Linked DNA regions of Homo sapiens: region 2 is linked to region 1. Evidence: promoter capture Hi-C in 16 types of primary human blood cells and fetal thymus (Javierre and others, 2016). All regions are on one chromosome and are shown on one strand. The core of a region is centred on a gene start or on the middle of the fragment in contact, and the rest is flanking DNA. Distances in the headings are between cores, read along the strand shown.

Evidence for each region. Contacts are between HindIII fragments. The CHiCAGO score rates a contact against its expected background, and 5 or more counts as called.
Region 2: a contact is called between the fragment with the promoter of ANAPC10 here and the fragment with the promoter of GUF1 in region 1, in 1 of 17 cell types (total CD4 T cells). The highest score is 7.5, in total CD4 T cells.

The regions. Positions count from the first base shown.
Region 1 is chr4:44,675,725-44,680,151 of GRCh38, reverse strand. It overlaps GUF1 (GTP binding elongation factor GUF1), which reads right to left and starts at 1,732. Exons shown (of 17, transcript NM_021927.3): 1 at 1,365-1,732. The coding sequence starts at 1,529. RefSeq lists a silencer at 1,394-1,553 and an enhancer at 1,625-2,513. The HindIII fragment of the contact is 9,672 bases long and covers 1-4,427 here.
Region 2 is chr4:145,095,213-145,100,186 of GRCh38, reverse strand. It overlaps ANAPC10 (anaphase promoting complex subunit 10), which reads left to right and starts at 1,991. Exons shown (of 5, transcript NM_001256706.2): 1 at 1,991-2,067; 2 at 4,076-4,202. The coding sequence starts at 4,088. It overlaps ABCE1 (ATP binding cassette subfamily E member 1), which reads right to left and starts at 1,876. Exons shown (of 18, transcript NM_002940.3): 1 at 1,768-1,876. RefSeq lists enhancers at 1,565-1,644, 993-1,864, 1,895-2,154, 2,235-2,284, 1,418-2,617 and 1 more. The HindIII fragment of the contact is 4,584 bases long and covers 940-4,974 here.

The sequences.
Region 1 (4,427 bases), core at 483-2,982:
GACACCTAGAACTTCTAAAGGCCTGAGAATACCTTGTCTAGTAAAACTTTTGAGGCAATGGAGCTACAGAAAAGCTGAAAGAAGATAAATTTTCTGCTCCTATCACACATTTAATCAGGAATCAGATTTATTTAAAAATCTGTGTCTCTAATGGAGCCTCAAAATTTTATTTTAAATACAATTTTGCTACTTTGCAGCTTCTCTGGTGAGAAAGAAAAAAAGATGACATCCAACAAAAGACTTATCACTTAAAACTTAAAAATATTTTAAAATGGAACTCCTGGTTTTTCGTGTACACATCTTCTTTAACGTTTTACTGAAACACATCACAAATTGCTAGAAATTGTTATCAAGCAAAATATACCAGTTTTTTGTACTCTATTTTTTTCCAATCAACTGCATATTTCACAATCAGCAAAACCATGAAATTACAATGAAATATAAAATTCACGTGAGCTTTGTTTTTTAATAGCCCCATAAAGACAGATAATAAAAGCACAATTATAGCTGAAAGTCTGCCGAAAAAAAACTAATTCTGATGTTTGCCCTGTAGATTTTCTTTCCCTTCAGTTCAAAAGGTATAGAGAATTGCACCATCTTTATACTTCGAATTGCAATATAAATCCATTTTTAAAAACACAGGCATATTAGGGCCAAAGTTGATTAATTTAAGGTTTTGTCTTTCTGCCTACTTATAGCTTGCCTTCAGTCACTTCACTTTTCTGACTAAAATGTATCCATTCACAATTATCAGAGTTGTTGAACCTCCCACCCTCTCCCACCAGAGTCAAAATTACACAGGTTTGCTCTGGCTGAGGTAGAATGAAATAAAACTACAAAGACAGACCGAGAACTTCCTGCATTCTAGGTATTAGTCTAAAAAAGTCCACTTCTCACATCACACAAATCTCACAAATTAGCCACTGGATGTTTGATCAGTTCTGCATTCAACAAATGAAGTAGGAGAGTGACAATGTAGTAACTTGCCCAGGCCACATAGCTACTTAATTTGCAGGAAAATGGACGTTATATTAATATTTACTAGCAACTTGCTTAGTAGGCTTTTTAGAATTAAATAGATGAATAAACGCAAAGCACTTCGACCAGTGGCTCGCGTAAACAAATCAACATTTGACATTGAAAATGAGAAAACCTACAAAGTTAGTGACTTGCCCAAGGTCACACTAGTGAGGAGTGGAGGGTCGGGAACCTGAGCAGTGCTCACACTCTCCGCTCTGCCTCCCTGTACCAAGTTGCAAGCAGGGTTCAGAGCTAGTCCCAGAAAGCCCTATACATGTCCAAGATCGCATGGGGCACTCCAACGTTTGAAAACTTGGCTAAATCAGATTCCAGGGGGCAGTCACCTTGAATTCTGCGGAGCTGTAGAGCCTGTCGGTAGCCCAGGACTCTGGAGCAGCCCCAAGGGTCGGCGCGGACCGGGGCCCCGGGGCCACCAGAAGCGCGGCCCCAGTGGCTCGTGGCGCGAGAGCGCGTGCGCACCCCCAGCCCCGACCCACGAGGGTCCACATGACCCGGGCGGCGGAGGCGTCAGGAGAGGGTACCCACACGCAACAGCAGCATAGCCCGTTTTTTTTCGAAGGTACCCCCCGTAGGATCCGGTGGACAGGACTCAAACAGATCCTGTGAAGCGAAGACAATGAACCCCGGGGAGCTCTGCCCAAGTACCAGATCCGGAAGCAACCCGAAGCGGCGGCGCAGCTTGCCGACGTCTGCACGCCGCACGCTGTCGTGACATCAGCGCGTCTTGGCGCCGGGTAGTGGAGTGGTCACGTGAGTGGAGGCTTTCGATTGACTCCCTAAAACGCAGGGTGTAGACAGAGTACATATTAGCTTATATTGTCTGCTGAGTGCTGTGCCAATTCCTTTGCATTGTCTCTTTCTTACTACTGCCCTGTGGTGTGTGTACTGTCAGTTCCCCCAAACTACCTCTGGAAATCCGGACCGAGTGACTTGCCCAGGAGCTCACAGGTGGGGAGCTGTGGAGCCTGGAGTGCCGCCCAGGCAGTCTGATTCCCGAACCAGGAGCCGAGGTCTTAGTCCAGGGACTTAAAGATGCTATTATTAGCACAACGTTGAGACTTAGCCTTCTACCTAATGGCAAAATAATAATGGCACTTTTAAAATCTGGAGGTCGAAATGTATTCCCCATGTTGTCAGTGACAGAGCTAATCTTGAAGTGCATCTGAAAGGAAACGGGCCATAACATTGATTGCAATACTGAATCCAGGAAGGTTTTGGCAAGAAGTAAAGGTGGGAAAAAGTTCCATGCTGGACCCCCAATGTTTCCATCGTCATCAAGTTACCACTTCATGGAATGAGCTCTGACGAAGTAAGAATGGGGGATAAAACAGGTGATAGGAGGATTGCATCCAGTGTTTGTCTCCCACTATTTCTCTTGCGCTTTTCTGGAATATCCAGAATTTGGTGCGAAGGAGGGAGATGACAGCTGTGTTCAGTTCATCATTGTGACTGAAGACAGAATCATTCGTATTGTTTCCAGAGCCTTTGAAAGTTTCTTCATTTGGAGGATTTCTTAGGATCAAGAATTCTGTACCAGACTCAGTTCTTTCTTGGATTTTTTTTTCCCCCCTGAGATGGTGTCTCGCTCTGTCGCCCAGGCTGGAGTACAGTAGCGCTATCTCGGCTCACTGCAACCTCCGCCTCCTGGGCTCAAGCGATTCTCCTGCCTCAGTCTCCTGAGTAGCTGGGATTACAGGCGCGCGCCAGCAATCATGGCTAATTTTTGTATTTTTAGTAGAGACGGGGTTTCACCATGTTGGTCACGCTGATCTCGAACTCCTGACCTCGTGATCTGCCCACCTCGGCCTCCCAAAGTGTTGCGATTACAGGCGTGAGCCACCGCGCCTGGCCCTTTCTTGGAACTTTTATGAATTAAAACAGTACTTGATAGACGACTAATTCTGTCACACTTGTAAGAGAATGAATTTAACAACTATCTTGAAGTAAACACAATAATTTATATTCAATGTTGCCCAGACTTCCATAATTTGCACAATTACCCTCATTAATTTTCACCATATCCTGTCAAAGATAAAGGCAGACACCAGTTAAAGTGGTGAAGACAGATTTTTATTATAGTGATATACTAATGCAATCGGGAATAAGATCCAGAATGAACTAAACTACAATTTGTCCAGAGGCGACTGTATTTTAAAAGGAGAATGCGGGAGTAGGGAAAGAGAACAACTGGGCTTGATCAAAGTCAGGGAAACGGAAATTTACAAAAAACAATGGCGGAAGAATGGTCCATTTGAAATCCATCTGGGTTGTAAACTGTTGCTTATGGAAATAAGGCTCCTACCCTTCCCGCAGACACTAGGAAATGAGTGCTACTTTCACATGTTGGCTGGAACAAATAAATTATTTTGTCAGTCTTGAGCTTTCTCAGACAGAAATTTAAGGGGGCTTCATCTTAGAGATGCAGCCTTGAGCTGTTATAAACTATATGAGTTTGTTCAAGTCTTTTAATGTGTGGGCAAACCGGTAGGGGAAGGATGTGGATGAAATCATTTGTGCTGAGGGTCTGTAGTTTTTATAGGCAAGTTTGAGGCTTTGCTGATAAGAGGGCTTAGAAGAGTCAGGCTAGAGTTTGGTCAAGAATCTTTGTCAATCCTCATACCGATATTATGTACTTTATATTTTTCTTTAACTTACCTTTATATGTAAATGAATTCTTTTTAAAAGAAAACGTAGATACCATTAATGGAGAAAGCATGATGAGCTGTCATAAGAGTAACAGTAAATATAACTGTAGTGAATAAAAAATGTGATTCAATTGTAGGTTTGGTCTGTCTGGATTACAAAAGGGAGATTAGCAGATATTAGAAAAGAATTTAAAAATATTAGCCTCAAACTGAGATTTTTCTCTTTGACCTAGCAAGAAGCATTTAAATAGGGTTGAAAGAAAAACTTTATCTGAATAACACAGTATCCTTGATACCATGTCTGTATCTATCTTGGTGCCTCCACAGGAATTTGTCCCACACTTTAGAAAACTGCAGTATCTTATAAGGCTGACATTATGTTTCCCAGCCTACAAATGGAAAAACATATTTGTTAGAAAAATACTGAGCTCCACTGTGTCAGGTTATATACTAGCTGTGGAAACTCAAACAAATTAAGCAAAATGTCTAAAATTACATGATAGATAAATTACATGATAGATAAATGCAAAAAAAAATTTGAATCCAAATTTTTGGAAACTAAAGCTCATCTCTTGCAATATCTTTGCACAAGTTTCTTTATTATTCAACTTGAGAAGAAGCAGGAGGTATAGTGACTGAACTTCAAAGAGGAGGTATCTTTCATGTGCTTCGAAGGATAGGCAGTTTTTTGTTTTTATCCAAGGAAATAAATGGAACTTAAGCAGAGGAATAATCAACAGC
Region 2 (4,974 bases), core at 742-3,241, about 100 Mb before region 1:
AACATACCAGAAGTGGTTAATAAACTGATTTATATAAAAATAGTGATAAATTGTAATGCATTTAAGAAAAATGAACATGGATTCTTTGTAGAACTGTTAATTAACTGTGTGAACACTTTTAATTCAATTTCTGTATCAGTTTCAATAATTGGGGCAAGGGGATTCCCTACTTGTTTTTCAATAGAAAACCTAGGCACAGTAAAGCTTGGAGAGGAAGATTATAGTTAACAGGCTCCTGCAAACAAAGAAGGATTTGCGGATATTTCAGATTCGAAGACAAAAGTGTTCAAAATTGACACTAGAACAATGACCCTCAGTGTCATTCTTACAGCTGAGAGGAAAAAAGGAAGTGAGGAATACTTAGAAGCATTTACAGTCTAAAGCCAAAATAATTGTAACGCTGTGTAAAAGCATTTCAAAGACTGCTGTTAACTAATGATGTTTAGTATCACATGAAATAGTCTAACCCATGCTTATTGTAGTTTATTAGTCTTACAAAACACGTAGAAGTTAGGAGTGGTACACGGCTCTGATTTCAAAGAGTTTTAAGTTTAAGACATTTAGAAGAACTCTAACTTAATATTGTTTTCTCCCCCTCTCTCCCAATTGTTAGATGCTCTTCCAACAAACAAACAAACAAAAAAACTCCCTTTTTTAAAATAGGGGAGAACTAAGTTCTCAAAAAGCTCACAAACCCCAAACAGCTTTTGGTTCAAATACAGGTTCTGAGCCTTTGGTTACACTAACAAAGTATTAGTGTCAGGTGGCTGGTATACAATGAATATTCTCAGAATATGGGACAAACTACTGCAACATAAATGCCACTATCATAAATGACTAGTTAGCAGTCCTGTTGGGAAAGAGTAAAAAAATAAAACATGTTATTTGGACAGTTCTTCCTCTTATAGATTTTTACCATCAAAAAAGAGAAAATAAGCTTATGTAGTTAATGGGAGGTGGGAATTCGGCTTTGGCTGTCATTCATTCACAATACGTATTAAATGCCTACAATGTACGAAGCCCTGAAGAGATAATAAAGGTATTCTGAGTAAAGACATCAACCTTGATCTCAATGAGTATTAGATACAATAAAAGGAAAAACGGGTAAGGGGAGAAAGTGCCTAGTGCTACAAAAGCGTACCAAAAAAACTATAGGATTTCTACTGGGAAACTACTTGGGACAACCCCAGTCATAGCTGCGTACACGCTGTTCTGAGAAAAGCAGAGTGACATGTGGGCATCATTTCTATAAAGCCTGGGAGTGGACAGCGAGTATTCGACTTCATGGCGGCAAGATGCCATGACTCATTCCACTCAACAAAACGTGGAAGCCACGACTTCCCACAACCAAATATGCACATGTGACAATATATCCATTTTGGGTGCTGGAGGAGTGTGGGGGTACTAGAGAGTGCTGTAAGTTCTAAAGGTGCCTTCCTCTCCAGCAGGTTTAGCTTCAGGGCGGGAGTGGGGTAAAGGGGGAGTGGAGACTACGGCATCTAGGTCCATTCTCGAAGTCCCTCGCGGGTGTGGCAGGCAACAGCGGCGACAGCCGGGTCGGCTGGAGGGGAAGACCGAGGCGCCCCCAAGCTCTCGGCGTCGCCCGCGCTCCATCAGTTCCAGCTGTCCCGCAGGAACCGCTGCCACGCGCTGCTGCTGTCTCCGCCACCTAAGGCCTAACCAAAGGCTCTCGGAGAACGTCCCTACATTCTTTCCAACCTGGCAGATGGCAGCTAACGGCCAAACCTCTCCGGGCTATTCACGTACCTGGAGAAAACGATCCCCTTGCGGAGGGGAGCACAGAGGCCAAATCAGCTCTTGCCTTCACTTTTCAGCCACACAGCGTGTTCTCACGGCCACCGGCCAAAATGGCGGTGCCCAGCCGCCGCACGCGCAAGCCATAGGACGTAGTGCGCGCGCGCGACATAGAGCGTGAGGCGGAACCCTGGAGGTAGGTAGGGAGATATGACGTCATTGAGCTGCGACCCTTGTTCAACGCCGTTGGCGAAGCCAGCTGCTGGAGGTGCCGAGAATCTGAGTTTCGGCAAGCAGCCAGGTCTGGAAACTGTGAGTGTGTGGGCTTTTCTCCGACGTCGAGCGTGGTCCTAGCGTAAACAGATGCATTCGCCTCTCCGGTTTCAATCTTTTTTTACGTTTGCGCTTTCCTCAAGGCCGGTGGGTCAGGAGTGGAGCCTTAGTCATTCTAACGCTGGAGGTGTCAGTAGGACCAACAGAGTCTGGTGCCGACACGGCTTACTGTTGCGCGCTCTTCTAGGCCTCAACTTCCTCTCAACTGTGTGGTCAGTTCAGGGCCGGGAATCCAATCTTTTCCGAGCTCCATATTTTATCCACTTGGTGGCGTCCAGTCCCAAGTCCGGCAGTTGAATTCTGCCCTAAAGATGGGCTTTATTTCTATCTTTTTTTAGGTAACAGGACATTCAGTTAGTAATGATGGTTGCAGGTTGAATAGTCTCGCCCTAGATCTCACCTAACTTGCAGGCAAGTGACAACTAGTTCATAACTGAACCTATTCATCTGTTTATTCATTCAGTAAATTACTTATTGAGCGTTTAAGCCTCAGGCCTTGCCAAAGTTTACAGTCCGTTGTGTCTGCCGTTATTTAGTAAGTATCAAGTGCTTGTGTGCCGATTAAAGAACAACTTCGGATACAATGGGAGGTGTCAAGGAAACGGTATGCAGAACTATTGCACCTATTTTGAATAGCATATATAACAATGTTCAGTAGCAGTAACTGCGCTACCAAAGCAGTTTTACATATTGTTCACGATCCAGTATTGAAGTGTTTTTTCACATATGAATAGACTTAGTAAAATTAACAAAAGATGTGAAAGATGAGGTCAACCTTTTTAGAATGGGCCAGTTATTCACTTCAAAATCTTGAAGCCATTTTCCTGACCTTATCTTCTATGGTAAGAGCATATGTAAGTGAACTTTTAACATTTTTTTCTTATTTTTGTGCTTTTTGGGACAGTGTCTTGCTCTGTTACGCAGGCTGGAGTGCAGTAGCACGATCTCGGCTCACTGCAACCTCCGCCTCCCAGTTCAGGTGATCCTCCTGTCTCAGCCCCCCTGGGACTACAGGTGTGTGCCGCCACACCAGGCTGATTTTTTGGAATTTTTTTAGAGACAGGGTTTCACCATATTCCAGGCTGGTCTCGAACTCCTGGGCTCAAGCAATCCACCTGCCTTGGCCTCCCAAACTGCTGGGATTACAGGTGTGAGCCACCGGGCTGGGTCTTAAATAAAACTTTTGACAGCTAGAGGGCAGGTATGACTGTTCTCTGCATCACTCAATGAATATTTAAAATGAGGATCTTAGTGGGGTGATGGGATCACACCTGTAATCCCAGCTACTTGGGAGGCTGAGGTGGGAGGATCGCTTGAAGCAAGGTGTTCAAGACCAGCCTGGGTAACATAGCTAGATCCTGTCTCTAAAAAAAAAGGAATTAAGTAAATAAAATGAGGATCAATATTTATATATTCCTAGAATAAAAGTATTTCAGTCTGACTTTTCTAGGGCTAAAAGTCATTTGAATTTTCAGGCACAGAATTATAGAACTGCATAGCATTGTAGAAGTAAAAATCATCAAGTGAACCTCTTTAACAGGAGAGGAAATAAAGCCCAGACCTACTCAAAGTCTAGGCTGATTAAAGGAGATACTGAAGCCAAAACTTTGATTCTGTGCTCTTTTGACTACTATAGCTCACTGCTTTGCATATCTGGTCATATGAAACAAAACCTGAATTCCTAAGATTTTTATTTATTTAAAAATAGAGATGGGGTCTTGCCATGTTGTCCAGGCTGGTCTTGAACTCCTGGGCTCACATGATCCTCCTGTCTCAGCCTCCCAAAGTGTTGGGATTACAGGTGTGAGCCACCATGCCCAGCCCCTAAGATTTAAATTACAGTGATTTAATTATATTAACTGCATTCTTCAGAATAAATGATTAATGTCAGGGTATATGAGTTCCATTAAATTTTTCTTGGTAAAAAACTTTTGTAGAAAGATGCCCAGTTCCTGATACAATGTGTGCATTCTTGTTTTCTACATAGAATATTTTAAAAATGACTACACCAAACAAGACACCTCCTGGTGCTGACCCCAAGCAGTTGGAAAGGACTGGAACAGTACGGGAAATTGGGTCACAAGCTGTTTGGTCACTCTCATCTTGCAAACCAGGTAAAAACTAACAAACAAAAAAGCTGTTGGAAATAGTCACTTGCAGTTTCCTTGTACAGGCATCTCCCCTTATCCCAGGGGATACATTCCAGGACTCCCAGTGGATGCCTAAAACCATGGATAGTACTGAACCCTTTCTATATTAATACTATGTTTTTTCCTATACATAAATACCTGTGATAAAGTGTAATTTATAAATTAGGCACAGTAAGAGATTAACAATAATTAATAATAAAATAGAACAATTATAACAATAGAAGTAATAAAGTAATAAAAGTTTTGTGAAAGTGGTCTCTCTCGCTCTCAAAATATTATATTGTACCCTTCCTCCTGCGATGATGTGAGAGATAAAATGTCTATGTGATGAGAGCGAGTGAGGTGAAGAATGTAGGTGTTGTGATGTAGTGTTAGGCTACTATTAACCTTCTGACAATACTTCAGAAGGAGGAGCATCTGCTTCTGGTGATTCTGGATCATCAAGCCACGATGATGTTGATGATTGGATATCAGGAGCAGATGATGTTGATGGCTAACGGTCAGGTAGTATACACAGTGTGGATATGCTGGACAAAGTGGTGGATGTGCTGGACAAAGTGGTGGATGTGCTGGACAAAGTGATGATTTATGTCTTGGGTGGGATGGAGCAGGATGGTGAGAAATTTCTTCACACTACTCAGACAGTACACAGTTTAAAACTTACCAATTGTTTGTTTCTGGAATTTCCCTTTTAATATTTTGAACCATGATTGACCAAGGGTAACTGAAACTGCGG